Linked DNA regions of Homo sapiens: regions 2, 3 and 4 are each linked to region 1. Evidence: promoter capture Hi-C in human tissues and cell types (Jung and others, 2019). All regions are on one chromosome and are shown on one strand. Each heading gives the region's core, a stretch centred on a gene start or on the middle of the fragment in contact. The rest is flanking DNA. Distances are from core to core; before and after follow the strand shown. Region 1 has its middle 9.5 kb from the start of ZBTB32. Region 2 holds the start of CAPNS1 (calpain small subunit 1). Region 3 holds the start of OVOL3 (ovo like zinc finger 3). Region 4 holds the start of FFAR1 (free fatty acid receptor 1).

Evidence for each region. Contacts are between HindIII fragments. The study calls those that stand out against the background at their distance.
Region 2: the fragment with the promoter of CAPNS1 here is called in contact with a fragment that was not itself captured in region 1 in 1 of the 25 tissues and cell types used here (pancreas).
Region 3: the fragment with the promoter of OVOL3 here is called in contact with a fragment that was not itself captured in region 1 in 1 of the 25 tissues and cell types used here (pancreas).
Region 4: the fragment with the promoter of FFAR1 here is called in contact with a fragment that was not itself captured in region 1 in 1 of the 25 tissues and cell types used here (lymphoblastoid cells).

The regions. Positions count from the first base shown.
Region 1 is chr19:35,691,446-35,698,738 of GRCh38, reverse strand. No RefSeq gene overlaps it. Among named protein-coding and RNA genes, the nearest start is that of ZBTB32, 9.5 kb to the left of the region's middle. The HindIII fragment of the contact is 5,192 bases long and covers 875-6,066 here.
Region 2 is chr19:36,135,691-36,142,983 of GRCh38, reverse strand. CAPNS1 (calpain small subunit 1) reads right to left here and starts at 2,918. Exons shown (of 11, transcript NM_001749.4): 1 at 2,827-2,918; 2 at 1,764-1,987; 3 at 651-684; 4 at 243-332; 5 at 18-75. The coding sequence starts at 1,972. LOC105372385 (a long non-coding RNA gene) reads left to right here and starts at 3,002. Exons shown (of 3, transcript XR_935954.3): 1 at 3,002-3,093. RefSeq lists enhancers at 2,452-2,511, 2,602-2,651. The HindIII fragment of the contact is 11,049 bases long and covers 1-7,293 here.
Region 3 is chr19:36,106,064-36,113,356 of GRCh38, reverse strand. OVOL3 (ovo like zinc finger 3) reads right to left here and starts at 2,214. Exons shown (of 4, transcript NM_001302757.2): 1 at 2,061-2,214; 2 at 1,924-1,988; 3 at 393-597. The coding sequence starts at 2,154. It also overlaps a transcript of WDR62 not described here. RefSeq lists enhancers at 1,355-1,984, 1,985-2,615. The HindIII fragment of the contact is 22,945 bases long and covers 1-6,573 here.
Region 4 is chr19:35,346,652-35,353,944 of GRCh38, reverse strand. FFAR1 (free fatty acid receptor 1) reads right to left here and starts at 6,043. Exons shown (of 2, transcript NM_005303.3): 1 at 3,107-6,043; 2 at 81-2,740. The coding sequence starts at 2,393. The coding sequence ends at 1,491. It overlaps CD22 (CD22 molecule), which reads right to left. Exons shown (of 14, transcript NM_001771.4): 14 at 6,584-7,293. The coding sequence ends at 7,248. RefSeq lists enhancers at 893-1,759, 3,549-3,688, 3,729-3,778, 6,192-6,271, 6,872-6,971 and a silencer at 4,713-4,913. The HindIII fragment of the contact is 9,647 bases long and covers 10-7,293 here.

The sequences.
Region 1 (7,293 bases), core at 2,221-4,720:
ACTGTACACTGAGAAGCAGAGAGCCTTGCAGCCTAGGTAGCTGAATGCTGGATCCAAACTGTCTGCATCATATCCTGGCCCTGTTATTTACTAGTTGTGAGACCTTTGGCAAATTGCTTAACCCCTCTGGGCCTTAATCTCTTCATCTGGGCATATTAAATGGTCATATCATAAATGGGCATATTAATAGTACATATTGGCCAGGCATGGTGGCTCACACCTGTAATTCCAGCACTTTGGGAAGCCGAGGTGGGCGGATCACCTGAGGTCAGGAGTTCGAGACCAGCTTGGCCGACATGGTGAATCCCTGTCTCTACTAAAAATACAAGCCTGTAATCCCAGCTACTCGGGAGGCTGAGGCGTGAGAATCGCTTGAACCCAGGTGGCAGAGGTTGCAGTGAGCTGAGATCATGCCACTGCACTCCAGCCAGGGCAACAGAGTGAGACTATGTCTCAAAAAAAAAAAAAAAAAAAAAAAAGGGCTGAGTGGCTGAGTGCAGTGGCTCATGCCTGTAATCCCAGCGCTTTGGGAGAACGAGGCAGGCAGATCACCTGAGGTCAAGAGTTCAAGACCAGCCTGGCCAACACGGTGAAACCCCATCTCTACTAAAAATACAAAAATTAGCTGGGTGTGGTGGCAGGCACCTGTAATCCCAGCTACTCGGGAGGCTGAGGCAGGAGGATCGCTTGAACCTGGGAGGGGGAGGTTGCAGTGAACTGAGATTGCACCACTGCACTCCAGCCTGGGTGACGGAGCGAGACGTCATCTCAAAAAAAAAAAAAAGGTACATACTCCCGGTCGTGGTAGCTCACATGTGTAATCCCAGCACTTTGGGAGGCTGAGGTGAGAGGATTGCTTGGACTCAGGAGTTCAAGACCAGGTTGTGCAACATGGCGAATCCCCATGGCTACAAAAAATACAAAAATTAGCCAGGTGTGGTGGCACACACTTGTAATCCCAACTACTGGGGAGGCTGAGGTAAGAGGATCACCTGAGCCCAGGAGGTAGAAGCTACAGTGAGCCATGATTGCAACACTGCACTCCAGCTTGGGTGACAGAGTGAGAACCTGTCTCAAAAAAAAAGAAAAAAAGTGTGTACCTCTCAAAGTCATTGAGGGGATTAAATGAACTAATAGAGCAGTGGTATTTCTTCTTCTTTTTTTTTTTGAGATGGAGTCTGCCCTCCAGGCTGGAGTGCAGTGGCGCGATCTCGGCTCACTGCAACCTCTGCCTCCTGGGTTCAAGCGATTTTCCTGCCTCAGCCTCCTGAGTAGCTGGGACTACAGGCGCGGGCCACCACGCCCAGCTAATTTTTGTATATTTAGTAGAGACGGGTTTTCGCCATGTTGGCCAGGATGGTCTCGATCTTTTGACCTTGTGATCCACCTACCTCGGCCTCCTAAAGTGCTGGGATTACAGGCGTGAGCCGAATAGTGGCATTTCTTCTGTTCCCCAATGCCCTGTAACCGAGTTGTTTCCTTGCAATCAGTGTCATCTGCCTTGGCTGTGGTGTAGACCCTGAAAATTAAGGGATCATGGGAAAGCCTGGGGGCAGTGTGTTCCCAGAAGCAGTAGCAAGCGCAAAAGCCCCAAGGCAGGAGTGAGCTTAGTATATCTGAGGTACAGCAGGAAGTCCACCTGGAGCCAGGCAGCTGACTAAGACTCAGGAGCTCAGCTCAACGGCACGAGTGTTCATAACAGATGTGAAAATAACCCTGTACCTTTCAGAGAACAAAGGACTTTCCCCAAGCTTTGATCTCTGGAAAAACCCCAGACCATGATTACATTTGAGGCTCAGTGTCCACAGTTGCACAGGAATGAAGCTTAGAATTCAGGTCTTCTAGCTCTCTAGGGCCCATGCGTCAAGGTCAAGAAACTTACTTTCACTCAAATATTTATTAAACTCCTGGCCAGGCGCAGTGGCTCACACCTGTAATCCCAGCACTTTGGGAGGCCAAGGTTGGCTAATCACTTGAGGTCAGGAGTTGGAGGCCAGCCTGGCCAGCATGGCAAAACCCCATCTCTACTAAAAATACAAAAATTAGCCGGGCATGGTGGCGGGCGCCTGTAATCCCAGCTACTCAGGAGGCTGAGGCACAAGAATCGCTTGAACCTAGGAGGCAGAGGTTGTAGTGAGCTGAGATTGGGTCACTGCACTCCAGCCTGGGTGACAAGAGCGAAACTCCATCTCAAAAAAACAAAACAAAAAATTCTGATGGTGCATGCCATTGGTGCTGAGCCCTGGGGAAGACCCAGCCCCTGCCTTCAAACATTTCACCTGCTAGAGAGGAATTAGACCTCAAAACATATTCTTCAAGAGCCAAGTGGAAAGTGTAGGAACTGAAGCTGAGAAGAGGCACTTAAGCTAAGGGGAGAAGGAGTGGAGAAGGGTGAGGGACAGCTTCCCACAGGAGGCGATGATGTTTGTGCATCTTTTTGGGGGTACTTACTATGTGCTAGGCATGGTGCTTGGTAGAAAGGACACAGTGGGAAGCAAAGAAGAGACTGAATGTAATGGTCTGCTAGGGCTGTGTAACAAAATATCACAGACTAGGGGGCTTAAACAACAGACATTTATTTCTCACAGTTCTGGAGACTGGAAGTCCAAAGTCAAGGTGCCAGCAGGGTTGGTTTGTCCTGAGGCATTTGTCCTTGGTTTGTAGAAGGCCACCTTTTCACTGTGACCTCATATGGCCTTCCCTCCGTGTGTGTGCACTCCTGGTGTCTCTTTCTATAAGGACATCAGGGATCAGGGCCCCACCCTTATGACCTCACTTAACCTAAGTTCCCTTCTTTATTTTCTTTTTCTTTATTTTATTTTATTTTTGAGACAGAGCCCTGTTTTGTCACCCAGGCTGCAGTGCAGTGGCAGGATCTTGGCTCGCTACAACCTCCATCTCCTGGGTTCAAATGATGCTGTTTTGGCCTTCCAAGTAGCTGGATTTAGAGGTGCCTGCCACCACGCCTATCTAAGTTTTGTATTTTTAGTGAAGGCCGGGTTTCACCATGTTGGCCAGGCTGCTCTCAAACTCCTGACCTCAAGTGATTTGCCTGCTTTGGCCTCCCAAAGTGCTGGGATTACAGGTGTGAGCCACTGTCCTGGCCAGTTTACTTTCTTAAAGTATCTGTCTTGGGCTGGGCGTGGTGGCTTACACCTATAATCCCAGCACTTTGGGAGGCTGAGGTGGGAGAATCACTTGAGGCCAGGAGCTCGAGACCAGCCTGTCCATCATGGTGAAACCCTGTCTCTACAAAAAGTACAAAAATTAGCCAGGTGTGGTGGCGCACGCCTGTAATCCCAGCTACTTGGGAAGCTGAGGCAGAAAATCACTTGAGCCCAGGAGGTGGAGGTTGTAGTAAGCTGAGATTGCACCACTGCACTCCAGACTGGGCAACAGAGCAAGACTCTTGTCTCAAAAAAAAAAAGGCTGGGTGTGGGGGCTCATGCCTGTAATCTGAACACTTTGGGAGGCCGAGGTTGGCGGATCACGAGGTCAGGAGATCAAGACCATCCTGGCTAACACGCTGAAACCCCGTCTCTACTAAAAACACAAAAAATTAGCTGGGCGTGGTGGCGGGTGCCTGTAGTCCCAGCTACTTGGGAGGCTGAGGCAGGAGAATTGCGTGAACCCAGGAGGTGGAGCTTGCAGTGAGCTGAGATCGCACCATTGCACTCCAGCCTGGGACACAGAGCGAGACTCCATCTCAAAAAAAAAAAAAAAAAAAAGTTAACTGATGTACCCTGAACCAGAGTTGTTTTTAGACAACAAATATTGCTTGTCTTGACTCTGGGTACAGATATATATATATGTATCTTTTCTTTTTTTTTTTTTTGAGACAGGGCCTTGTTCTGTTGCCCAGGCTCCTGGCCTCAAACAATCCTCACATCTCAGCCTCCCAAAGTGTCCTCAATTTTCTGAATGGATTTTTATGAGAGGAACTTTAATACCAGGGATCCTATTTTGGTCATTTTGTCCAGCAGGGCTGGGAGCAGCTCTTCAAAAAGACCATTTTCTTGTCCCTTTACCTTCCCTGTTTTGCATGATTCTGTTTCCATTTGTAGAGGATCTGAGAAGGCAGCTGATTCTGTGAGAAACAATGATTCTACTTCATGTTTTAAATAGATCTGTTGGGTTAAGTGACAAGTCCCTAGCTAGACTCAAGAAGGCACTGGAGAGCTATGGTCCTGCCACTGTACTCCAGCCTGGGCGACACGGTGCGATTCTCATTTTCTCTCTCTCTCTCTCTCAGACAAAGTCTCCCCCTATTGCCCAGGCTGGAGTCCAGTGGTGCTACCATAGCTCACTGCAGCCTCGAACTCCTGGGCTCAAGTGATCCTCCTGTCTTGGCCTCCCAAAGTGAGGGATTACAGGTGGGATTACAGGTGTGAGTCACTGTGCCTGGCTGAGACCCCGTCTTTTAAAAGAAAGGGGAAGGGGGAGGAGAAGGGGTAGGAAGAAGGAGGAGGAGGAGGAAGAAGGCGGAGGAGGAAAGAGGAGGAGAAAGAGAAAAAAGGAGGAGGGAAGAGGAGGAGGGTGAAGGAAGGAGAAGGAAGAAGGAGGAGAAAGGAAGAGGGATGAAAGAAAAGAGGAGGGAGGAAGAGGAAGAGGGAGGAGGAGGAGGAAGGAAGAGGAGGAGGGAGAAGGAGGAGGGAGGAGGAGGGAGGAGGAGGAGGGAGAAGGAGGAGAGGGTGGCAGTGGAGGTCACTCCCTATAATGTGGAGCATAGCAGCCACCTGCTGGTCACAGCGCAGTAGGAAGAACACAAAGCCCTGGAGTGAGGCAGAGGGGCCCTGGCTCCTCAGTGGCTCTCCAGCGCCCTCTATTGACAAAGCCTAACCTGGCACCAGATGACAAATGGAACTGAGAGGTAATAAATTGATAACCCACAGGTAAGTGATGGGGCCCCTGCTATTAATAAAAACAACAGTAATAATAACGACTACCATGGAATTCTCAGTGCTGTCTGTGTCATTTATCCCGGAATCGCTGGTGAAGGTTGATGGGGAGGGGGGATTGTGGTCCATTTGCCTCCAGGGTCGGCTCACCCTTCCCTAGGCTCAGGCTTAGGGTCTGAGCCTGCTCTGGGCAAGCACCCTCTCCCTCCTCCCAGACCAGACCCTATAGATGGAGCTGACTCCATCCCTGCTCCAAGGGCAGGCGTGTGCCCCGGAATCTGCACTTTCCCCAGCCCCACACGTGATGGCACAGCACAGTGTCAAACCTAGACAATGAAAAACATTCCAGAGGGGGCACCAGGCCCTCTCACCGTTTTTTGCTTTGTTTTGTTTTGTTTTTGTTTTTTGAGATGGAGTCTTGCTCTGCCACCCAGGCTGGAGTGCAGTGGCACGATCTTGGCTCACTACAACATCCACCTCCCAGGTTCAAGTGATTCTTCTATCTCAGCCTCCTGAGTAGCTTGGATTACAGGCACATGCCACCACATCTAGCTAATTTTTGTATTTTTAGTAGAAACAGGGTTTCGCCATGTTAGCCAGGCTGGTCTCGAACTCCTGACCTCAGGTGATCTGCCTGCCTCAGCCTCCCAAAGTGCTGGGATTACAAGTGTGAACCACCATGCCCAGTCATCTTTTTTTTTTTTTTTTTTTTGAGACTGTTATCTGGGCTGACAGAGTCAGTGGTGCCATCTTGGCTCACTTCAGCGACGACTGCCATACTCAAGTGATCCTCCTGCCTAAGCTTCCTGAGCAGCTGTGATGCAGGTGCTTGCCACCATGGCCAGCGATTTTTAAAAATTTTTTTATTGTTTTGTAGAGACAGGGTCTCACTATGTAGCCTAGGCTGGTCTCGAACTCCTCAAGCGTTCCTCCCGCCTTGGCCTCCTAAAGTGCTGGGATTACAGGCGTAAGCCACCGCGCCCCCCCGCCCGGCTAGGTTTTTGTTTTGTCTTTCATTCTTTTATTTTTCTCCTTAGCACTTATTAGCCTCTAACATGTGTTTTTCTTATTGGTTTTATCTATTTTCCCCTCTAGAAGGTAAGCTTTATTTATTTATTTATTAAGCTCTTTTAAATCTGGGAAGAGTTCCTGTAAGCTTTATTATCTGATTCCCAGGAAGCTTGTAGCCATTTTTCTAACACCAGCCAAGGACGCGGGGACCAGAGAGGAGGAATTGGTGGGCGTGGGACACCTGAGGAAAGGGCAGGGGTGTGTGTTTTTACGTTTTAGTTAAAAAAAAAAAAAAAGAACCAACTTGCCCTCATGGAAGGAGTGTAAGCAAAAGTGGATGTAGTCAGAGGCATGTGCCTGGCTTGATTGCTATATAACACAGTTTCTTATTTCCATTCTGTGATCTCAGATGGTGAGAGAGAGAGCTTGGCTCAGTGGAGCAAGAGAGAGAAAGAGATACCTGGAGAGGTGGCAAGGGGCCAAGCCACACGGGCCCTCAGTGCGAGGTGAGGAGGGCGCTGGAGAGCCGTGGAGGGTTAGAGGCTGAGGAGGGATGCAGTCACCTGGGGTGTGGGGGGAACAGCCATCAAATGGCTGCCTGTCCCTCAAGGGGTCCGGGCCCTGACATAGCCCTGACCTCTTTGCTCCCCTCTTACCCACAGGAGCCGGCCTCTGAGTTTGGGGGCTGGGGCGGACAAACCTGTCCTGCAGGCAGGCCCGCCTGGGTGAGGCCACGCTGCTGCCGGTCTGACTGAGCCACACTCTGCAGGTATATGGTAGGATGGAGCCCGAAAGCCAAGTGGCAGATGTGGGTCAGAGATGGCGGCCTACCTACCTGACTGCCCAGAGGTCAGAGGTCAGGTCAAACCCCGGCCTCCCATCTAGCAAGTCCTGGCCTATTATTATTATTATTGAGACGGGGTCTTGCTATTGCCCAGGCTGGAATGCAGTGGCACCATCACAGCTCACTACAGCCCCTACCTCCTGGGTTCAAGCGATCTTCCCACCTCAGCCTCCCGACTAGCGGTTACTACAAGTGCGCACCACTATGGCCAGCTAATTTTTAAATTTTTTGGAGAGATGAGGTCTCACTATGTTGGCCAGGCTGGTCTGGAAATCCTGGCCTCAAGCAATCCTCCTGCCTCAGCTCCCAAAATGCTGGGATTACAGGCGTGAGCCACTGTGCCCAGCCCTGACCTGTCTTACTGAGAGGTGACAGCGTGCTGGCAGTCCTCACAGCCCTCGCTCGCTCTCGGCGCCTCCTTTGCCTGGGCTCCCACTTTGGCAGCACTTGAGGAACCTTCAGCCCGCTGCTGCACTGTGGAAGCCCCTTTCTGGGCTGGCCAAGGCCGGAGCCGGCTCCCTCAGCTTGCGGGGAGGTGTG
Region 2 (7,293 bases), core at 1,669-4,168, 440 kb before region 1:
TAACCCCGGTCACTTACGTCGTGTCACAACCTTATTGAGAATGTTCATGAGTTCTGTGGCGCTGACCTCCATGTCCTGCGGGCGGAAGTTAGGGGCAGGTCAGGGGTGACTGAAAGGGGTCTGAGAATGTCATGGAGAATGGGAACACTGGGATTGTCATGGTCAAGGGTGTGTGTGCAAGGGCAGCCACAAGGGAAGGGATGGAACGGTTAGGACGGGGCCAGGGACCCCAGGTTACTTACATCTCCAGCCAGCTGGGCAAAGAGTCTCCGGAACTGCCGGACCTCCTCACTCTCGTTGGCCTCAATGTTGGAGTAATGTGTGCGTGGGGGCTGCAAAGGGAGGAGAGCTCAGAGCAGGGGGAGGGGAACCCGGCCAGGACGGCTCCCCAAACCCAGGTACCCTGGGTGGGGAAGTCAGAGTGGGCTGGGCAGCTTGATGAGGAAAAGAATGAGGGGTGGTAGTGAATGGGGTGCACGTATGTGGGGCATGGCTAAGACCCATGGCGAAGCTGCAGACACGGCATGGGAGGAACTGGCAGAGGAATTTCACAAGAAGGGGAGGAAGGTGGGGCTTCTCTACAGGAACAGGGATGGGACCTCGAAGAGGCCTTGGCAGGAGAAGGGGGTCTGGTTGCAGAGGGGGCTTACCGGGGGCTCCGGGTTGTACTGCGCAGCCGCCTCGCTGCGAAGAGATAAGGGGGAGGGGTTAGTGCCAGGGGCGGGGCCTCCAACGGGCAGCACTACAGAACCATCAGCCCCAACGCTCCAGACCCCAGCCGTTATCTTCCTTACTTGGTTGCTGTGCCTTTCATTTGTTCTTGTCCTCATCTGTCCCAATCCACACTGCCCTGGTCGTGCCCCTCTTCTCCCTTCCTCAGGCCAACCCCACCCTCGAGGAAACCCAGAGACCGGTCCCCTGGGAGGCTCCCCTCCTGCCAGGCACACCTACCCAGTGGCAGATTTCAGTCATCTTGGCCACCCTAAACCTAAAAAATCCCACGTAGAATCAAAAGACCCCGCCCCTTGGAGGGCTCACTTCATAGAGGCTCTGCCCCAGCTTCCCAAGGCCTTATCCTCCTCAGGTGCCATCTGCCCAAGACCCTACTCCATGGCCCGCTTCCTAAATGCCCGTCTTCCCAACATCCTACCCCAGCCATTGGTCCCCGCCCCTTCAAGGGATCACTGCTAAGTGGCCGTGGCTAATTAAGCCAACCTGCCCTATCCCTACCAGGGCATTTTTCTCCATTAATCCAGCCAGTTCCCAGCAAGCCCAGCCCATTCTGGGCCATTTACCCTACCCCATTAGGTCTTGCTTCCTCCTGGGCTCACCTCCTCATTAACCCACCTAAAACCTCTGACCACACTCATAAGTCAAGCCCCTTCCGTAAAATGTCACTCAGACGCATTGGCTCCGCACCTTTAACGTTCATCTCCAGGTTAGCCAATGCAGGCTGAGCCCAGACCCATAAGCCCCACCCGCCAAAACTCCACATCAGTCCCCTCAGGACCACATTGTCCTGGTCCCACACAATCAGACTACTCCCATATCAAGCACCGCCCCCAATGACTGATATCCGCCTCACTGGGGTCCACCCCCTTACAGCAGAACTCTCAAACCAGGCCTCCCCGGCCTAATTCATGTACCCAGGTTAGCCTCCAGGTTAATCCTATTCTATTTTTAGACCACGCCCCTCCCAGACCACGCCTCACTGAGGCTCCTCCCATTCCCAGGCCCCGCCCCTCTGATAGTCTCCGCCTTACCTGATGGCGCTGATGACTCCGCCTAGGATGCGCATGGCCGTTCCACCGCCACCGCCGCCTCCACCACCGCCGCCGCCGCCGCCGCCGCCGCCGCCGCCCCCGGCCCCGCTGATCAGGCCTCCAAGCACATTTCCCAGGCCCCCACCCAGGCCCCCGCCTCCCCCGCCGCCGCCGCCGCCGCCCTTCAAGAACGAGTTAACCAGGAACATGGCTGCGACTCACTGCTGGGGGGAAAAAAGGGGACCAGTGGGTGCTTCGCCCCTGAGCCCACACCCTCCCTTCAAACACGCATTTCCGGCAGCTGGACCTGGGAGGAATCTGAAGCCTCCGGGTGGGGGTCTGAGTTTGCGAGGGCGGGTTGTCCGCGGATGGGTGGGGCAGGTATGGGGGATCAGGTTTGCAACCTCCTCAGGTCTAAAAGGCACCCGTGGGGCTTGAGGGAGCCTGGACTGGGTGCACGCGTGAAGGGGAGGGTGCAGATCTGGTGGGGGTTCTCTTGGTGGGGACCCCAAGTTGGCGTAAGGCGTTCCCGACATGTCTGGGCGCTAGAATGTGAGATCCAGAGCCCAGCCTGAATGTAGAGGTCCTTGGCAGGTCATGGGCGCGGAGCAAACATCCACGGCCTAAAGGGCCCCAGGGCGGGGTTTAGGAAATCCCAAATGTGGGCTTGAGAATTTAGGTATTCCCAGCGGCAGGATTCCAGTGTCACCTCTGGCTCTGTGGGCTCGGGTCTAAGATCGTGGCTGTGAGCTCTGGGTTCCCGGACAATGGGGTTCCCCGCTGGAACTGGGGGCACAGATCTACGATCGCGGTTCAGGACACCCCAAGGAAGAATTCACAGGGTATCTCTGAAACCTATGGGCCTGTATTTTGGATCATGAGACAGAGGGTGGAGAAGGGTCCCCGGGACGGCATAAAAGGAGATCGAACAGGTCTGAGGGTTCGAATCTGAGACCATGGATCTGGGGGGCTCCTGAGGCCGAGACTTCACGGTTTCGCCGGGTCTGGGGGCCGCCAAAGTCGGAGTTGCGGGGTGCGGAGGGGGTACGGGCCGGGCGCTTACCGCCGCACACGTCCGGAGTTCTGGGAGTCGGTTCCACTGCCGCTCCCGGGCCTCCCGCAGCGTCCGGCTCCGGAGGGCGGGGCCGGTGACTCAGGCCGCAACTCTCGGGTCGGACACTGCACCGCGGCCCTGCTGTCGCCCGCGCGGTCCTAGAGCCGAAGCGGACATTGCGCATGCGCACCCCACACCGCCCGGCTAGCTGGATCCAGGTCTGGGCCCCGCCCTACGCGTTTCCAGCGCCGGAGGTCTTAATCCCGCCCTGACTCGGTAGGCGGGGGTCTTCCCGACACCCCTCAGGTCTGGGTGGAGGCACCCGCGGACGAGAACTCGGAGGGGACCCACCCCCCGAGTGTCGTAGTGTGAATTTTCACCCTAGGGCATGCCAATATCCTTCCAGGGTGGCGGTTTTCGGTCCGCTCACTAAGGGACTCCGCACGGGCCCTCTGCAGGTGTTGTCGCGACAAACACCTCCTGGAGGCCTGGAGTATGGTTTGACTCACACGCTGGGGGACAGTCGCCCGTGTCTGTGGCGAGGATTGAGGCTGGATTGCCTTTCCCAGTGCCTGCAGCAGCCCGGATGGCAGTCAAACCGCAGGCAGCGCCTGCGCCGCCTCCCAGGCGAACCTTACCACGCCCCCGCCCCAGTCAGGGGCCACCAGAATCATTCCTTCCTGGACTGGCCCAAAGAGTGTCCTCAGTATGCTAGCCTCTAAAGAAGGCCCCAGACACAGGAAGATTCCTTTGGCCACGGCCTGGTTTCTTTATTTACTTAAAAAATATTATTGTTTTTACATAATAGAGACGGAGGTCTCGCTATGTTGCCCAGGCTGCTCTTGAACTCCGGGCCTCAAGCCGTCCTCCTGCCTCAGCCTCCCAAAGTACTGTGAGGTACTGGGATTACAGGTATGGGCTACCGGCCTTTTTTTGATTTAATTTAATTTTTTACAATAATATTTTTACATAGCCTGGTTTCTTTTCTTTTCTTTTCTTTTTTTTTTTTTTTGTTTTGAGACAGCGTCTTGCTCTGTTGCCCAGGCTGGGGTGCAGTGGCGCCATCTCAGCTCACTGCAGTCTCTGCCTCCCAGGTTCAAGCGATTCTCCTGCCTCAGCCTCCCGAGTAGCTGGGATTACAGGCATGCACCACCACACCCAGCTAATTTTTGTATTTTTAGTAGAGACGGGGTTTCACCATGTTGGCCAGGCTGGTCTCAAACTCCTGATCTTAGGTGATCCACCTGCCTCGGCCTGCCAAAGTGCTAGGATTACAGGCATGAGCCACGGGAGTCCAGTACTTTTTCAGGACTCATCGGGGGGAGCTAAATCTGGCCCCCAGGCAGGCTGGCTGGCTCTTATCCCCTACCCTGCAGGCTGGCTAGGCTTGAGTTGAATCCTGGCTGTGCCCTGTAATAACTGCACAACCCCAAAAGAGTGGCTTGATATTCCTGAGCAGCGATTTTCTCATCTGTAAAATGGGAACATGGGTTGCTCCATACCACTAGGCCCCCTATCAAAATTAAATGATATCTGCAGCAATACTGATTATTAAAAAAAAAACTTAAGTGGTGGCTGGGTGAAGTGGTTCATGCCTGTATTCCCTGCATTTTGGGAGGCTGAGGCAGGAGGATCTCTTGAGCCCAGGAGTTTGACTCCAGCCTGGGCAATATAGTGAGACCTTGTCTCTACAAATAATACAGAAATTAGCTGAATGTGGTGGCATGCGCCTAGTCCCAGCTACTCTAGAGACTGAGGTGGGGGGATCACCAGAGCCCAGGAGGCGGGGGTTGCAGTGAGCCGAGATCATGCCACTGCACTACAATCTGGGTGACAGAGCGAGACTCTGTCTCAAATAAATACTGGGCACAGTGGCTCATGCCAATAACCCCAGGACTTTGGGATGCTGAGGCGGGCAGATCACCTGAGGTCGGGAGTTCGAGACCAGTCTGACTAACATGGAGAAACCCTGTCTCTACTAAAAAATACAAAATTAGCCGGATGTGGTGGTGCATACCTGTAATCCCAGCTACTCGGGAGGCTGAGACAGGAGAATCGCTTGAACCCAGTAGGCAGAGGTTTCAGTGAGCCAAGATTGCACCATTGCACTCCAGCCTGGGCAACAAGAGTGAAACTCCGTCTCCAATAAATAAATAAATAAATTGGTGATAAATGCTTTGTAAATGCCCCCATTAGCTCTGTGTCTGTGCTCATGCTGTTCCCTCAGCCTCGAGGCCAGCTGTATTCCTCAGCTGGTAGACTCTTAGTCTTCCTTAAATAGTACAAAAACAGGCCAGGTGTGGTGGCTCACGCCTGTAATCCCAGCACTTTGGGAGGCCGAGGTGGGCAGATCACTGAGGTCAGGAGTTTGGGACCACCCTGACTAACATGGTGAAATCCTGTTTCTACTAAAAATACAAAAAATCAGCCAGGCGTGGTGGCGTGTGCCTGTAATCCCAGCTACTCGGGAGGCTGAGGCAGGAGAATCGCTTGAACCCGGGAGGCAGAGGTTGCAGTGACTCGAGATCGTGCCATTGCACTCTAGCTTGGGCAACAAGAGCGAAACTGTCTCAAAAAAAAAAAAAAGATACAAAAACAAGTAACCATCAACCACTCCTCCAAGTGCTTGACGTCCATCAGTTCCCTTGTTCTCCTAACAGCCCTGTGACATAGATGCTATTTATTATCCCCATTTTACAGATAAGTAAACCGACTCTGAGGTTAAACCCAAGCAGTCACTCTCCCTAGCCTGTATCCTTAACCACTACCCTTATGCGTTAATAATATAATTAATATAATAGGTCAAATAACAACATCACAACAGACAAAACTAGTTGCAGCTGATGTTTCCTGAGGCCTTGCTGGGGCCAGGCCAAGGTAACTGCTACACAAGCCTTGTCTGCAGGGCAGGAGAGAGAATGGAGATTCTGAAAGGCAGGGTCACGGAGGGTGGCAGAACCAGATCTGAACCCGGGCTTGGCACAGATCTTTTGGTGATGACTAATCCAGATTCCCTTCTCACCACACCCCTCCCTGCCAGACTGACTGCTCCAGCTCTCTGCCCTCTCCCGAGGCTCACTTGCTGCCAGCCCTCATGCCCTCGGCCAGGAACTCCCCTGCTGCCTTTTTTTTTCTGGCCTGATTGTGTAGCTACTCAGGCTGCAGGTGTCACCTCAGGAGTCATCTCTTCCAGAAAGACCTCCCTGTCTCCACCCAACCTGAGACTAGGTGAGGCTTCCAGTTATATGCTTTCAAAATGACTTGTACTTTCTCATGGCACTCACTGCCAATCGTAACCATATTGTCATCTAGTTCTGGCCCCCAACCCCTTATTCCCGGCAGCCCCAGGTGTTAGGTCTCTATCCTCCTCTCTGTACCACTCATGCCATGGGGTGCCTCCCCTACATGCACAGCTTAAATCCTGTCTCTAGGCTATCAACGCCCAGTTTTTTGTTTTGTTTTGCTTTCGAGATGGAGTCTCACTCTGTCGCCCAGGCTGGAGTGCAGTGGCGCGATCTCTGCTCGCTGCAAGCTCCGCCTCCCGGGTTCACGCCATTCTCCTGCCTCAGCCTCCAGAGTAGCTGGGACTACAGGCACCTGCCACCACGCTGGCTAATTTTTTGTATTTTTAGTAGAGACGGGGTTTCACCGTGTTAACCAGGATGTTCTCGATCTCCTGACCTTGTGATCCACCCGCCTTGGCCTCCCAAAGTGCTGGGATTACAGGCATGAGCCACAGCACCCGGCCAACGCCCAGTTTTTTGTGTTGTTCTTAGAGACAGGGGTTCTGTCACCCAGACTGGAATGCAGTGATGTGATGTAGCTCACTGCAGCCTGTAACTCCCGGCCTCAAGGAATCCTCCTCCTGCCTCAACCTCCTGAATAGCTACTGCTACAGGCACAAGCTACCACGCCCGGCAAACATCCAAATTTCCTTTATCTTTTTTCTTTTTTAATTATTTGTAGAGATGAGGTCTTACTGTGTTGCCCAGGCTGGTCTTGAACTCTGAGCTCAAGTGATCCTCCCACCTCAGCCTCCCAAAGTGCTAGGATTACAGGCGTGAGCCACTGCACCTGGCCCTAACCCTAACCCCCAAATTTCTATCTCCAGCCCAGACACCTCCTGCGAACTCCAGGCTCCTACATCCTGCATCATATTCACCATTTCCATGGGAAAGGATGGAAGATCTCAGAGGCTTTTTTTTTCCTTTTTCTTTTTCTTTTCTTTTTTTGAGACGGAGTCTTGCTCTGTCACCAGGCTGGAGTGCAGTGGCGCGATCTCGGCTCACTGCATCCTCCACCTCTGAGGTTCAAGCAGTTCTCCTGCCTCAGCCTCCCGAGTAGCTGGGACTACAGGCATGCGCAACCATGCCCAGCTAATTTTTGTATTTTTTAGTAGAGACGGGGTTTCACCATGTTGGCCAGGATGGTCCCAATCCCTTGACCTCGTGATCCACCCGCCTCAGCCTCCCAAAG
Region 3 (7,293 bases), core at 965-3,464, 420 kb before region 1:
GGTACCTATTCCAAGCTCTTCAGACTCTTCCGCCCATGACCCACCATCTGCTACCGTCACCCAGTGCAGACATGGGCCAGACACCTGTGTCTCCACTCTCCCTCACCAGGATGCTCCCTCCCCTGGGGGATGGAGAGGGAGGCCTTCCCTTGCCTTTCGATCTGGAGCCTGAATCGTATAACCGGCATCCGTCTGCACTCTGCATTCCGTGACAGGCCCCTATTTTGGTGCCACCTTACACCCACCCACTGGGGTCCGAGAGACATCATGTCTTGATTCTCCATACCCCACATACACAAACCATGGACACTCCACAGCCCAGCACCTCTCTCCATTTCCTTCCATCCCCACCTGGGGCCCAGCAACTTTTCCCTGTCCCTGCCACTGCTCACCAGTGTGAGTCCTCATGTGGCGCTTGAGATCGAAGGCGTCATGAAAGCCCTTGCCACAACAGCGGCACAGGTGGCGGCGCACGGGGCTGTGGCACTTGAGGTGCCTTGTCAGCATGCGCTGCAGAGGGAAGGCCTTAGGGCAGAGCGGGCAGCCCAGCGTCCCAGGGCCCCTGGGAGCAGAGGTCAGGTTGCCCTGTGTGGGCTGCTGGAGGGATGCAGGAGTTATTAGCCTCTCTGGCTGGACCCCATCCACCCTTTGTTACTCTGCAAATGAGTATTTACAGAGTGTCCTGAGCCACCACGGAGGATTAGGAAGGCAGGTGGGAGACAGTGATTAGTGTGTGTGCCTGTCACTCTCCAGGGCCTTCCCTCACTATCCCATGGTCCTTACTTTCTCTATGCCAAGTCCCATCTTCTGATGTGACATACACATTTTTTTTTTTTAAAGACAGAGTCTTGCTCTGTCGCCCAGGCAGGAGTGAAGTGGTATGATGTCAGGTCACTGCAACCTCCGCCTCCCGGGTTCAAGCGATTCTAGTGCCTCAGCCTCCCCACGATTACACGATTGTAGGCATGCGCCACATGCCCAGTTAATTTTTTTATTTTTTGTAGAGATGGGGTTTCACCATGTTGGCCAGGCTGGTCTTGAATTCCTGACCTCAAGCAATCCACCCACCTTGGCCTCACAAAGTGCTGGGATTACAGGCATGAGCCACTATGCCCGGTCTATTTTTCTAATTTTATTGTTTTTTTTGAGGGGGGATGGAGTCTAGATCTGTTTCCCAGGCTGGAGTGCAGTGGCGCAGACTCGGCTCACTGCATCCTCTGCCCTGCCTCCTAGGTTCAACTGATTCTCCTGCCTCAGCCTCCTGAGGAGCTGGGATTACAGGCACGTGCCACCATGTCTGGCTAATGTTTGTAATTTTAGTAGAGACAAGGTTTCAACATGTTGGCCAGCCTGGTCTCGAACTCATGACCTCAAGTGATTCACCCGCCTCGGCCTCCCAAAGTGCTGGAATTACAGGCTGACTAATTTTATTGTCTATACATGCAGCCCCAACCAGAATATAAGCTCCATAAAATTGTGGATTTTTGTCTTATTCCCGCTGAATATAACAGCCCATGCCTAGAACAGTGCCTTGCTTTCATGAATATATTACATTCCGGCTGGCGCTTTCCTTCCTCCAATGCATGCACAGCTGAAAAAGCCCTTATCTCCCATCGCACTCCTGTTGCCTTGTCCCATGTTCTGACATAAAGCGGATCATCCACATGTGGGGATGAATCTTGTGCCCCGCTGGAAGAGATCCCTGTGGCTGCCGGCCCTGGTGCCTGGGGTGAGACCTAACAGTAGAGAGCTCACTACTAGGAAAGGAGAGGCATTCCCAACACAGAGAAGTAGGGGCGGACAGGTCCCGAGGCTGGAGGGCGTGTGCAGATGGGTCGGGGGAGCAAGGGGCTGTCAGCTTCATTAAGGCTGAGAGCAGGCAGGAGCGAAACAGCTGGCTTTGCTAGCCAGTTACACACTCACCGCTGTCCACGGATCCCTGACACTGGACGACTGTTGTGCCGGTGGCCCCCCCAGGCTGCTGCAGTCTGAGGAGAAAAGCCAGATGGTGACACTGCGTCTCTCCTGCCCCTTACCTCCAGGCACAGTGAGGGGCCCACCTGGGATATAGGCATCTCCCCGGAGCTGGTCAGGCAGATGGCCCCAGTTGGGGGGCTGTGGACGCCGACTCCTGACCAGGAAGGCGCGGGGCATGCCCTCCGGAAGGCTCTCCACACACAGGGGCTGCTTCCACCTGCTGTCAGACCTCAGCCCCAGGATGACTATCCCTGGTGGGAAAGGAGGGGAAGCCTCTGAGGAACCTCATTCTCTTCATGCAAATTTCCTGGCTGGCCCTGGGAGTGGACTAAGCTGGCTCAGGTTACCCCTGCCTGGGGACCTGCCCATCTTCTCCCAGGTTTTGGAGGGAACCATCCAGCCTCCAGGGGTGGACAAGCACTAGGACCACCAAGCAGAGCCAGGCAAGGGGAGATGGGCCTGGGGAGCTTTTGAGGATAGGAAGAAGAAACAAGGCCCCAGGGGGACTGTCTCCCAGGGGTTGAGGGTCTGTTTGCCAGGCAAATCAGTCACCAGGGGACATCCAGCAGCCTGCCTGGTTATTCAAATCACAGCAGCTGTCTGAGGACACTGAAGGGGCCCCCTGCTGTGATTGCCCTGCTCTGTAGGGTGCAGGGAGGACAGCAGATCTGGATAAATCAGGGCAAAATGAGGATCCAGGCTGTGCATCCTCAGGTAGGATGCCCCACCTCTCTGATCTTCAGATTCCCAGGGCTAACATTCAGCCAGAAGCACTGTTCAGGTGTAGCAGGCACTAAAATACTAGTTTGTTAATAATCTAGCCCCTAGTTACTGCCTGGGACAACACTCTTCCTCCCTCCCACAGTCTGGAAAGTAAAAGGGGGTCTCCTATTTTTTTTTCTTTTTTTGAGACGGAGTTTCACTCTTGTTGCCCAGGCTGGAGTGCAGTGGCACCATCTTGGCTCACTGGAACCTCCACCTCCCGGGTTCAAACGATTCTCCTGCCTCAGCCTCCTGAGTAGCTGGGACTACAGGCATGCACCACCACACCGGGCTAATTTTTGTATTTTTGGTAGAGACAGAGTTTCACCATGTTGGCCAGGCTAGTCTTGAACTCCTGACGTCAAGTGATCCGCCTGCCTTGGCCTCCCAAAGTGCTGGGATTACAGGCATGAGCCACCGCACCTGGCCCAAAGGGGGTCTCTTGACACAGCCAGGGGCTCCCAGGACCCTACCCCGGCACACTGGCCAAGCTGTTTTACACTTGATTCTTAGCCAGAAGACTAAGAAGCAATCCAAGCTCTGTTTTTTAATTTTTTTTTTTTGAGGCGGAGTTTTGCTCGTTGCCCAGGCTGGAGTGCAATGGCGTGATCTTGGCTCCTCTATGACCTCCGCCTCCTGGGTTCAAGTGAGTCTCCTGCCTCAGCCTTCCAAGTAGCTGGGATTACAGGGGCACACCACTGCACCCAGCTGATTTTTTGTGTTTTTTGTAGAGATGGGGTTTCACCATGTTGGCCAGGCTGGTCTCAAACTCCTAAATGCAGGTGATCCGCCCGGCTCAGCCTCCCAAAGTGCTGGGATTACAGGCGTGAGCCACCGCGCCCAACCTGTTTTTATTTTTTTTGTTTTGTTTTGTTTTGTTTTTTGAGACAGATTCTCACTCTGTTGCCCAGGCTGGAGTGCAGTGGTACGATCTCCACACACTGCAGCCTCCGTCTCCTGGGTTCAAGCGATTCTGCTGCCTCAGTCCCCCAAGTAGCTGGGACTACAGGTGCGCACCACCACACCCGGCTAATTTTTGTATTTTTAGTAGAGATAGGGTTTCACCATGTTGGGCAGGCTGGTCTCAAACTCCTGACCTCGAGTGATCCACCTGCCTCAACCTCCCAAAGTGCTGGGATTACAGGCGTGAGCCATTGCGCCTGGCAACTAAACAATTTTCTAAGCTCCAGACCTAGCTTACTGAAAATGATCGCGTAAGTCCATGAAGGAGGCACACCAGTGACAGCCCAGAATGACCAAGACAGTGAGAGGCAAGTGAGGCAGAGACCCAGCCATGATGGGGAAAAGAGGGGTACCTGGGGACCCGAACAGGCTCCTGATCCAGGCTACGGGTACAGGGATGGCTTCCTGGATAAGCGCTGAAAGGTTTCAGATGAAAGGGGAGGGTGTTCTAGTCAGAGGGGGACATCTGTACAAGGCTTGCTGGTGAGAGGAGTATTTCTTCATTTCTTTACATTGCCCGAGAGTCAGTTGTGCCAATTCATTTGGGGAAGCAAGGGTGGCAGTGCTGAGGGTCTGCTGGCCATGCATTTCCGCTTGCTCTCTGCAGGACCCAGAGCAAGTCATTTCTCATTGGGCCTCGGTTTCTTCACCTGGAAAATGAGACTAAGGAATCTCCCTCTTCCCAGTTTGTATTGAAGATCCATGTAGCTCACATGGAGAGAATGCTTAGCATGGGGCCTGGCATGTGGCAGACATATAAGCAGGGATTGGTTAGGAAGGTTTTTTTTTTTTTTTTTTTTTGAGACAGGGCCTTGCTTTGTCACCTAGGCTGGAGTGCAGTGGAGTGAACACAGCTCACTGTAGCCTCAAGCTCCTGGGCTCAAGTGATCCTCCCACATCAACCTCCCAAGTAGCTGGGACTACAGGCGTGCACCACCACACCTAGCTAATTTTAAAATTTTTTGTAGAGGTGGAGTCTTGCTATGTTGCCTAGGGCTGGTTTTGAACTCCTGAGCTCAAACCGTCTGCCTGCCTTGGCCTCCCAAAGTGTTGGGATTACAGGAATGAGCCACTGCATCCTGCCGAGGAATCCCTCCTCTGGGCAAACATCCAGGCCTCAGGTGGGTCATCTGCAAAATGGGGTTTCAGGTGGTGTCTCCATTTTGCAATTGTTGGCTTTCCTGCAGCCCTGACTGGGATGCCTGGCACGGGCCTGGCAGCTCAGGACCCAGGAGCTGTCCTGATGGTACTGCTATGGGGAGGCCAAGGGTAGATGTGGGGGTAGAAGCAGGGGGGGAGTTGCAGTGAAAGATGAACTGTTTTCCTTCCAGGGACCCAGTTCCCCAGGAACCCTCTCAGTCCTGTTCTGCCCTGCTCCATGGCCTAGGAGGTTGACTGGAGGCGGGGTCACCTGGGCTTCTATGCACTCTGGCTTCCAGTAGGATTTGGACAATGGGGTGCCCTGCAGGAGGGGAGTAAGGTCAGGGTGTTGATTCTCACTCCGTCCTGTGTGGGAGTCAGGGCTGCAGCTCCCTCAGCACTACCCTCTCCCTGGGATTTGCTCTTTTGGGTTCTTGTTCCTTCTCTTTGTGCCTTGTGGCCTGGGGGTGGTAACAGCTCCCAGGGTGCCAGTCCTGGGGTTCTGCACCAGCCTCGGTGGTTTCCCAGTCCCTGCTGCTCCTTTGCAAATGATCCCTTGGTTAAACTCTTTGGAATATCCCATCTAAGCATGCTGTCATCTTTCTGCTGGGACCCTGTCAGCTCACAAACCACATGCACACATGCTGCACCACCAGCAGTGGCTTCTTAACCAGGTGGTTTATCCTGGTTAAGAAGTATGGAGAAAGTATGGTCCTTCCAGGACAGAGCCTGGCATTTGGAAGAGGGAAGTGGCAGACATGCTGGATCCTCTCTGATTACCAGCCCACTTGCCTTTCTTATTGAGAGAACCTCTTTGTTTGAGCTGCAACATGCCCAGGACAGGAGAGATGGTCCAAGCACATCAAAGCAATCTCCATTCCTGTTGCCTGGGACTCATCTGACCCCAGATGAGTCTCCCAGGGAGACCCCTGGGAGAGATCTGCATCTTTTCTGCTGCCCTAGAGGGTGCCCTGCTCTGTGCCTTTGCTCCTGGTTGGACCAGGCCACCCAGCAGCTGGGACCAATAACTTGGGCCTCTGACCCTCATGTCATTGTGCACCTGGCCTCTTCCTCTCCTGCTGTCACCCTCTGTGAGCCCCCTGCACTCCACATCTAACCTCAGCCTCCCCATAGCAGTACTATCGGGGCAGCTTCTAGCTCCTGCGCTTCCAGGCTTATGCCAGGCACTTCAGTCAGGGCTGCAGGAAAGCCAACAATTGCAAAATGGAGACACCACCTGAGGGTGTGCTGCTGGGTGCCACAGCAGCCGTGTTGCAACCATGAGGCCATAAGCTGGAGACTGAAGCTTGCTCACAGAGGATAACAGAGCAGGAGAGGAAGAGGCCAGGTGCATGATGACATCAAGGGTAACCAACGTCCCTCCATCTTGGGCCCTGAAAGCCAGGTGTTTACTCCTTGGAGCAGAAGACTTTACTATGATACAGGTTGGAAGGAAGGGTAATTCCATGCATGACAGAGGCCCAAGGTGGTCTCCTGGGTGTCCGAGGCCTGGGGGGCTGAACACCAAGCTTTGCCCAGGGATGTTGGGCAAGGTTTTGGGCAATGGTGGCCGAACTAGGCAGATGGGCCTAGGCCTAGGCAGGTGGTTCAAGTTCTGGACCACCTGGACTCCCTGAGGCAGAGTCGTGAGAAATAAGCAACACTGGATATCCCCCAAACATTAAGAGCAGAGATTTAGAAACAAACCCAAAAACAAAAAACTGTTCTGGATATTCCTTGGACTTAAATGTTATGAAGCAACAAGGCCCTGCTCCTCCTTGCACCTCAGCTCCTGCCCTCCCCTTGCTCACTCCATTCCAGCCGTCCGGGCTTCGCTCCTCTTGCTTCCACACAGATCACGTGTGGCTGCCCCAGGCCTGTGCACTGGCTGTGCTGTCGGCCTGGATGTGTTCCTGAGATGTCCTCTATCAAGCTTCAGCCCAAATGTCACCTCGAAAGGCCTTCCCTGACCCTTCACCAGCAATGGATCTCCCCAACCTATCTAGAATTATACAGAGCTCTAATTCCTGCATCTGTTTGACTGTATAGAAGGTGAGTGGCCATGAGGGCAGGTGCGTTGCCTGATGTTCCTTCTGCTACAGTGCCCGGCACCTGGGTGGGAACTGGCAGGATTTTTTTTTTTTTTTTTTTTGAGACTTGCTGTGTCACCCAGGCTGAAGTACAATGATGGTGTGATCTCAGCTCACTGAAACCTCTGCCTCCTGGGTTTGAGCGATTCTCCTGCCTCAACCTCCTGAGTAGCTGGGACTACAGGTGTGCACCACCACACCCCAGCCAAGAGTGGCTTTTTTAGCAGACACCCCATGTGGCCAGATGCCTGCTGTCTGGGGGAGCTGGTAGCAGTGCTGGGAGCTCGTGGAATGTAGAACTTCTGAAGGGGAAGCAGTTATTGGTCCCAGCTGCTCGTGGCCTGGGCCTGCTGCCAGGATC
Region 4 (7,293 bases), core at 4,794-7,293, 350 kb after region 1:
AAGCTAATCACCTCCTGGTGAGCAGTTCTCGCCAGTACACTGTGTACAGAAGTAAAAAGTGATCTTTCATAGTCATTGCATATGTTTCACCATGTTTAATGCAATACCGTAAACTTTGAATAACCCCCTTGGCCCCAAATGCGGGGCCACTAGTGATGCCAGAGCTGCTTCCAAGAAGCAAAGAAAAGTCATGACATTATAAAAAAGGGTTGAACTGCTTGATATCTACCACAGATTGAGATCTGCAGCCGCGGTTACTGCCGCTTGAGACAGACAACTTCTCTTATAAACAGACAACAAAACTTACAGTATTGATAAATACAGCACAGTGCTGTGAAGGTATTTTCTCTTTCTAATAATGTTTTCAGTAACATGTACTTTTCTCTAGCTTACTTTATTGTAAGAATACAGCACATAATATATATAACATACAAAATATGTCTTTTTTCTTTTTTTTCCAGAGACAGGATCTTGCTCTGTCACCCAGGCTGGAGTGCAGTGGTGCGATCATGGCATTGCAGCCTCAATCCTGGGCTCAAGGGATCCTCCCACCTCAGACCCCTGAGTAGCTGGGACTACAGGCACGCACCACCACGCCCAGCTAATTATTTTTATTTTTATTATTTGTAGAGGTGGGGGTCTCACTATCTTGCCCAGGCTGCTCTTGAACTCCTGGCTTCGAGCAGTCTTCCCGCCTCGGCCTCCTAAAGTGCTGGGATTACAGGCATAAGCCACTGTGCCTGGCTTCAAATATGTCTTACTCAATTGTTTATATACTGGGTAAAGCTTTTGGTCAACAGTAGGCTATTAGTAGTTGAACTTTGGGGGAGTCAAAGTCATGCACAGATTTTCCACTGCGTGGGGTTCGGCACCCCATCCCCACGTTGTTCAAGAGTCAACTCCGTAGCCTTTGCCCATCACTGCGGGACCTTGCATTTTCCCTCCCCGGCTGAAGCATCTTTTCCTGCCAGCCTCCGTTCCAAGCTCCAAGGCTGCCCCCTTGCGAGTTTCACATGGTATAACAGCGTCATTATCCTGCCTCCTGCCTCCTCTCCTACTCGGAAATCAAATGTTCTCTCCTGGGAACTGATTTCAGAGTAGCTGTCCTCAAGTGCATCACCGGAGTGGCAGTTCCTGTGGGTCAGAAACAGACTGCCTCCTCCTTCCCGTAAGTACAAGGCCTCTGCTCGCGGCCCACGGAAGACAGGCAGGTGAGGACGTGCAGAGGGGAGAGAAAGATAGGCGAGGAAGGGACAAACTTCCTCGACACGTGCAGGGGCAAACTTACCTCCCCCTGCCACCGTGCTCTGGCTCGGTGCTCCTCTCTTGACTGGGGTGCTGCCCTCAGCAGGCGCCGCTCTCTGCTTGAGTGGCTCCAGGGAGGCCTCCGGGCCAGGCTGCCCTGCAGTTCCTCCGAAGCAGCCCCCCGCAGGGGCCTGGAGAAGCAGCCGGGCCCTCCTGCCCCATGCTCCTTCCCCCGAGCAGTGGCGTTACTTCTGGGACTTGCCCCCTTGCGTTCTTGCCGCACACACTGTCTTCAGGCCAGGACCCCTTCCCAAGTAACCGGTCACCAGCGGATTAAGCACCACACTCCAGGCACCCGTGATGAGCCCCAGCTTCCGCCAGGAGCCTCCTAGATTGGGGTACAGGAAGCTGGCCACGTTGGAGGCGTTGTAGGGTCCTACGCAGAGCAGCAGCGTGAGGAGGGCCCCGCCGGCCACCCAGGCGGCCCGCAGCTTCCGCCTGTGCGTCAGGCCGGAGCGGGCCAGTGCCCGGAGGCAGCCCACGTAGCAGAAGGCTGTGATGGCCAAGGGCAGAAAAAAGAGCAGGAGAGAGAGGCTGAAGCGGGCCGGGCCGGCAGAGGCCGGGTCCCAGGCCTCCAGGCAGACCGGAGAGCCGTTGACCGGTGTGTTGATGCCCAGGGAGGTGTTGCTGTGGTCCAGCCAGCCTCCTGGAGCCTCCAACCCAAAGACCAGACCCAGGTGACACAGGACGAGGGCCCAGATGGCCGCGCACACCCCCCAGGAATAGCACGGCCTCCGGAAGGCTTGGTAGCCCAAGGGGAAGGCTGCTCCCAGGTAGCGGCCTGCACTCAGGGCGGCCAGGAAGCCCCCGCCGGCATAGAGTGGGAAGAAGTGGGCCACCGCGAAGACGGGGCACAGCGAGGCCGGCAGAGGCCAGGCCCCGGAGGCTAGCGCCTCCACCGCCTTCAGGGGCAGAGAGACTGTCAGCAGCAGGTCGGAGCAGCCCAGGTTCAGGGCGTAGACCAGGCTAGGGGTGAGACGGAGCCGGGCGTGGGCCGTCGCGCCTCGGATGGCCAGGACGTTGAGCGGGAAGCCCAGCGCAAAGGCGGCCACATAGAGGCCGAAGGAGAGCTGCGGGGGCAGGTCCATGGGGCCGCCGTCCTGGCCTGCACGGCTCCTGTGTGCAACCTGGCTCCCTGTCCTCAGATCTTGGGGCCCCGGAGAGGAGGGGCTCCTGGGATCACTCGCGGGTTCCAGCCCTGTGTGGAGAATTACAATTCACCTGGTGGGATCAGGGAGGAAACGAGGCCCACAGAGAAAGGCAGCAGTCAGGGAGCAGCGGAGCCTGGATGAGAAGCCAGGACCTGTGGCCCCCAGTCCTGTGCTTTCTCTCCACCATGTCACCTCTTAAAACCAGGGAAGCTCCTGCAGCGTCACAGGAGATAGGATGTGGCGCACAGGTCCCAGAGGAAGAAAGCTTCTCGATTTCTGAGACTCTGTGGGGAGGAGGGGTGGAGAGAATTCAGAACAGGGCTGGGCCCACAGCCTGAGCCTTCCCTGGGAATGGGAGTTTGACTCCTGAGCCCACTGCCCTCCCTGGTTCCCTGGCAAGGCAGGAGCTGCCCCCACCCCCCACCCACATTGGAAAGCCGGCGGGGCAGCAGGGAGGAGAAGGGTGTGGATAAGGTGAGGGTGTGGCCAGGGACAGGAAAAGGGGGTCCCCCAGGGAGAGCCCAAGGGTCAGCCAGGCCCCATCCATGTCACGGTTGAGCTTAGCAGTTCTCAGGGGCCACCTGGGCAGGGGGTCTGGGGGTCTGGGGAACAGTCAGGTGAAGAGAGGAGCCACAGAGAGAGGGACCCACCTCCTGGTGCTGCCAGATGTCTCTGAGGCTCAGCAGTCCCCTCAGCGGGCTGATGGAGGATGCCCGGGATGGGCAGTGAGCCGGAAGGGGAGGAGGGCGGGTGACAGGGCCATTAGCCTGAGGTTCTAGCAGCTTGGGTGAGCAGCTAATGGGGCATCCCGGCTGGAGGTGAGGCCACGCCAGAGGAGGTGAGGGGCTGGGAAGATGCAGGAACACAGAGGGGCCAGGGAGGAATTGGGGTCCTGTCTGGGTAGGGGCCGAGTGTGTAGCCAGTGCCTCTCAAGAGCAGGGCTTGGGGGCTCGGCCACAACCCAGCGCTATTCCCTCCCCAGCCCTCCTGCCTGTTCACACCTGCGCTGGGGCCAGGTCTTCTCCACCCTTGATGCACCCCTGGGCAGGTCCCGGGCCTCACTGGCTCACCCCTGACAACACAGGGTGCCCTGTGACTGCAGCCATGAAGCCATCTCCAAGTGGCAGTGGGTGTGTGGGGTAAGGAGTGATCACACCCGGGTGCGGTTCTGCACAGGCTGTGGGCTTGTTTTAGTTTTTGCGAGGAGGGCCCCTCTGTTCTCCCTCTGCTTCCGCACTAGCCCCATGGTGGTGGCTTCCGACCTTCCCAGGGCTGGAGGAAGGAGCGGGAGGAGGAAGGCAAGGGGCGGGGGCAGCCTCTGCTGACCAGCACTGGAGGGCCCAGGTTGTGGCCCCCACTCTGCCTGTCAAGGGGTGGCACAGATGTCCAAGCCGACTCCCCCCAGGGTGCATGGCTGGGGACACTGGGGGACACTCCCCAAGGCACAGGGAATGTGGCACCGGCCGGCTGCGTAGCTTCCTTCTCTCAGCCCTGGAAGTCCTCCCAGCCTTTCATGTTTCCCACTGGGGTCACCTGAGCCTCCCAGGAGGACCTAAGGAAGATTTCTAACCTCTCTGGATGCTCTCTCAGGTGTGCCCACGCCTGCTGGTGAGAAGCCAGCTCTGCTCTGTGATTCTGTCTCTGTCTCTCAATGTGCCCGTGTCTTTCTGTCTGTCTGTCAGTCTGTCTCTATTTCCTGCCTCAGAATGACAACACAGCTCTCCACATCAGTTTTCTCAGGCGTGTATGGGTCACCTGACCACTCTGCCCCTTCCGAATTCCAGGTCCCCCATCATAAACCTCTCTCTGTGTGGCCTCCTGGCAGCTCTGGTCACCAGGCTTCAGGGGGGACAGCAAGGGGGTCTCAGCCTATCACTAACTCCCTCAAAGACACCATCTCACTGCTTTTCATACCTCGGAGCCACTAAATTGGTCCATGCTCGCCTTTTTCTCGAGAGCAGCACCTGGGGTGCAGCGCCCGCTGTGAGCGGAGAACTGGCCTCCTACTGTTCAGTGTGTTGTTGGGAACTGAGAAATGGACAGAATGGAGGAAGAATCCACAGCAGTGTGGTTTCCCCTCCTGCAGCAAGAGCGAAGCCCTGGGGAGCCATTGGGTTTTCCAGATCTTCTCTGCTTTGGCCCCACCCACCTGGCGTCTGGATCTTTGCCCAAGGTCACCTTCTCCGAGGGCCTTCCCGGGTGCCTCAGCCACACTCATCCCTCCTGTGAATCTCACTTTTGTTGTCTTTCTTCAGTGCGACATCGTCTTGGCTGGCTCCTGAGCTAGAATGCCGGCCTCCTGAGGGCAAAGGCTTTGGTCTGCTTTGTCTACTACACGTTGCACAGCAGGTGTTTGGGAACCTAAATGCACGATCCATTGTCTGGACCCTGGGAGGACTGTGAGAGCTGGGGTTGTGGAGGGCGGCCTGCGTCTGGAGTCCTGGCCCCCTAGCTTCCTGGCCACCTGCTCTTCACCTGCTCTTCACGCCTCAGCAATGTCTATTGATGGCCATATCTCATGGTCAATCAGCCATGTAGTAGGTTTATGTCAGCAGCTGTGCTGAGGGACAGGGTGGGAAGGGGAAGATGCTCGATGGTTGCCAGGGAGCTTAAGCCAGGCCCTTCAGGCTTAGGACTGCCTCAGCTCCCTCCAGGGTATCTTGCCTTAAAAACCCTTGGCGGCTCTCGACTAGAGATCCCCAAGGTTGGTCCTACGCCTTATCTTTTTGGTGTCCTAACAACTGGCTCTGTACTGGGTGCATTTCCAGGTGCTCAGTATCTGTGTGCAGAATGAATGAAGAAAGAGTTGAATGACACCAGACCCCATTTTGGGCACAGACACCCCAACACCCTCCTGTCTCATTTAAACAGTTTTTGTTGTTGTTGTTTTGAGGCGGAGTCTCACTCTGTTGCATAGGCTGGAGTGCAGTGGCGTGATCTCGGCTCACCGCTACCTCCGCCTCCCAGGTTCAAGCGACTCTCCTGCCTCAGCCTCCCAAGTAGCTGAGATTACAGGTGTGAATCACCACGCTCAGCTAATTTTTGTATTTTTGGTAGAGACAGGATTTTACCATGTTGGCTAGGCTGGTCTTGAACTCCTGACCTCAGGTGATCTGCCCACCTTGGCCTCCCAGAGTGCTGTGATTACAGGCGTGATCCACCACGCCTGGGCTTTAAACAGTTCTTAAAGCCTCACCTTCCTCCAGAAAAGTTAATGGTGCTCACAAGAATCAAACCAGGGACAAAGTGGATTGATGGGGCGATCAAGGCCTCCCTGAACCATAATTCCTAGAGTTACCGTCCGGGTACTGAGCAGAGATGGGAGGGAAAGGAAGGTGGGAGAGGAAGGTGGCAGTTTGGGGACACCTGCCACGTGCCAGGAGCCAATCTCCCTGATGATCAGATAATTACACCCCTGCCCTCTAAGGAGAATGGGCTTTAGCCCCTTTGCAGAAGCAGGTGAATGGGTGGAGAAAGATCAAACCCGAGAAGCGGAGAGGGGAGCTGGGGCACCTAACTGGAAAGTCTGAATCAGTGAACAGAATTAGAGAACGGGTGCAGAGGACCTCGAATGACAGAAAAGCTGTGAGGTTTCTCAGGGTGGCTGGTCTTCAAGACTTTCTCTGGCAGCTATGGGTTGTGCAAGAATTGGGTAGCGTCACTTTTGGGAAGAGCTGTTTTGAATCGGCTTCCCCTTTTCACATTCTTCGAAAAATGCAAATAAAGGATGGAGGTTGGTTTTCTGGGGGACTTTCGGCTTCTGTGCTGGGTCTCAATGTGGCTCCAGCATATAGAAGACGATGCCTCACTTCCTATCGTGGGCCACCTGCGTGGTAGGCAGTGGCCTTTCCCTCTCCACTTTACAGATGGAGAAGCCGAGACTCAGGCAAGCTGGCGAGCCCTGCCAAGATCACCGGGCTAGTTAAGCCGAAGAATCAAGATTCAAGTTCTCATGTTTGTCTGTCTGCAAAGCCAGTATGCTTTTCCTAACAAGACACCAGACTCTCTAATCTGCTGGTTTGATCAGTAAACCACTGTGACTCCATTTCCTTCCCCCCAGGCCCCATGAAGACTTTCCCCTCTCCTCATCCCCACTCTGACTCCACAGACTGAAAAGAGTTCACTGGTTCTTTGAAGTGGCATCTGAGCCATTTTTATTGTGAGCTCTGTCTCCCTGGCAGGTTAATCCACACCAGTGTGTCCATCTCAAACCCGGAGTCCCCAGAGTCAAGGGGCCGCTGATACGTACGTCTCCCCGTGCAATGCCTCACTTCCAAAGGAGAAGCCAGGCCAGGACTGGGCCCCTTTCTACTTCGTTTCTGTCCTTTTCTGGGCTTTCCCTCAGAGGCAGAAACTGGGCATAATATTCGTGAGTGGGGATGTCAGATCAGGGGTAGAGGGCCAGAGAGATGGAGAAGGGAAGGAAAAATGATGACGAGCAGATCCCAGGAGGGACACAAGCAGCTGGGGGTGGAGATGGCCAGTGGCCGTGGTGGGGGCAGGGGGAGGTGTGCATGTCAGGGCAGGTATTTAGATGGATTTCTGGGTAGCAAGGAGAGTGGAAGAGAACAGGGGCAGGAGTTTTGGAGGTTTGGGGTTACCCTCACCAAAAAGACTGGCTCTGAGCCAGGCACAAGGTTCTCCGCAGTGAGTGTGTGTGTGTGTGTGTGCGTGTGTGTGTGTGTGTGCGCACATGCGCGCAGGAGGAAGCCATGTGGCGGTGTCTGGGGAAACTCGGGGACTTCCCTGGCCCCCGCTGCCCCCAGTGCCTCTGCTGCAGCCCATCCAGTGTCAATGTTTGAGGATCACATAGTCCACATTTTCTTGTGCCTGAGGC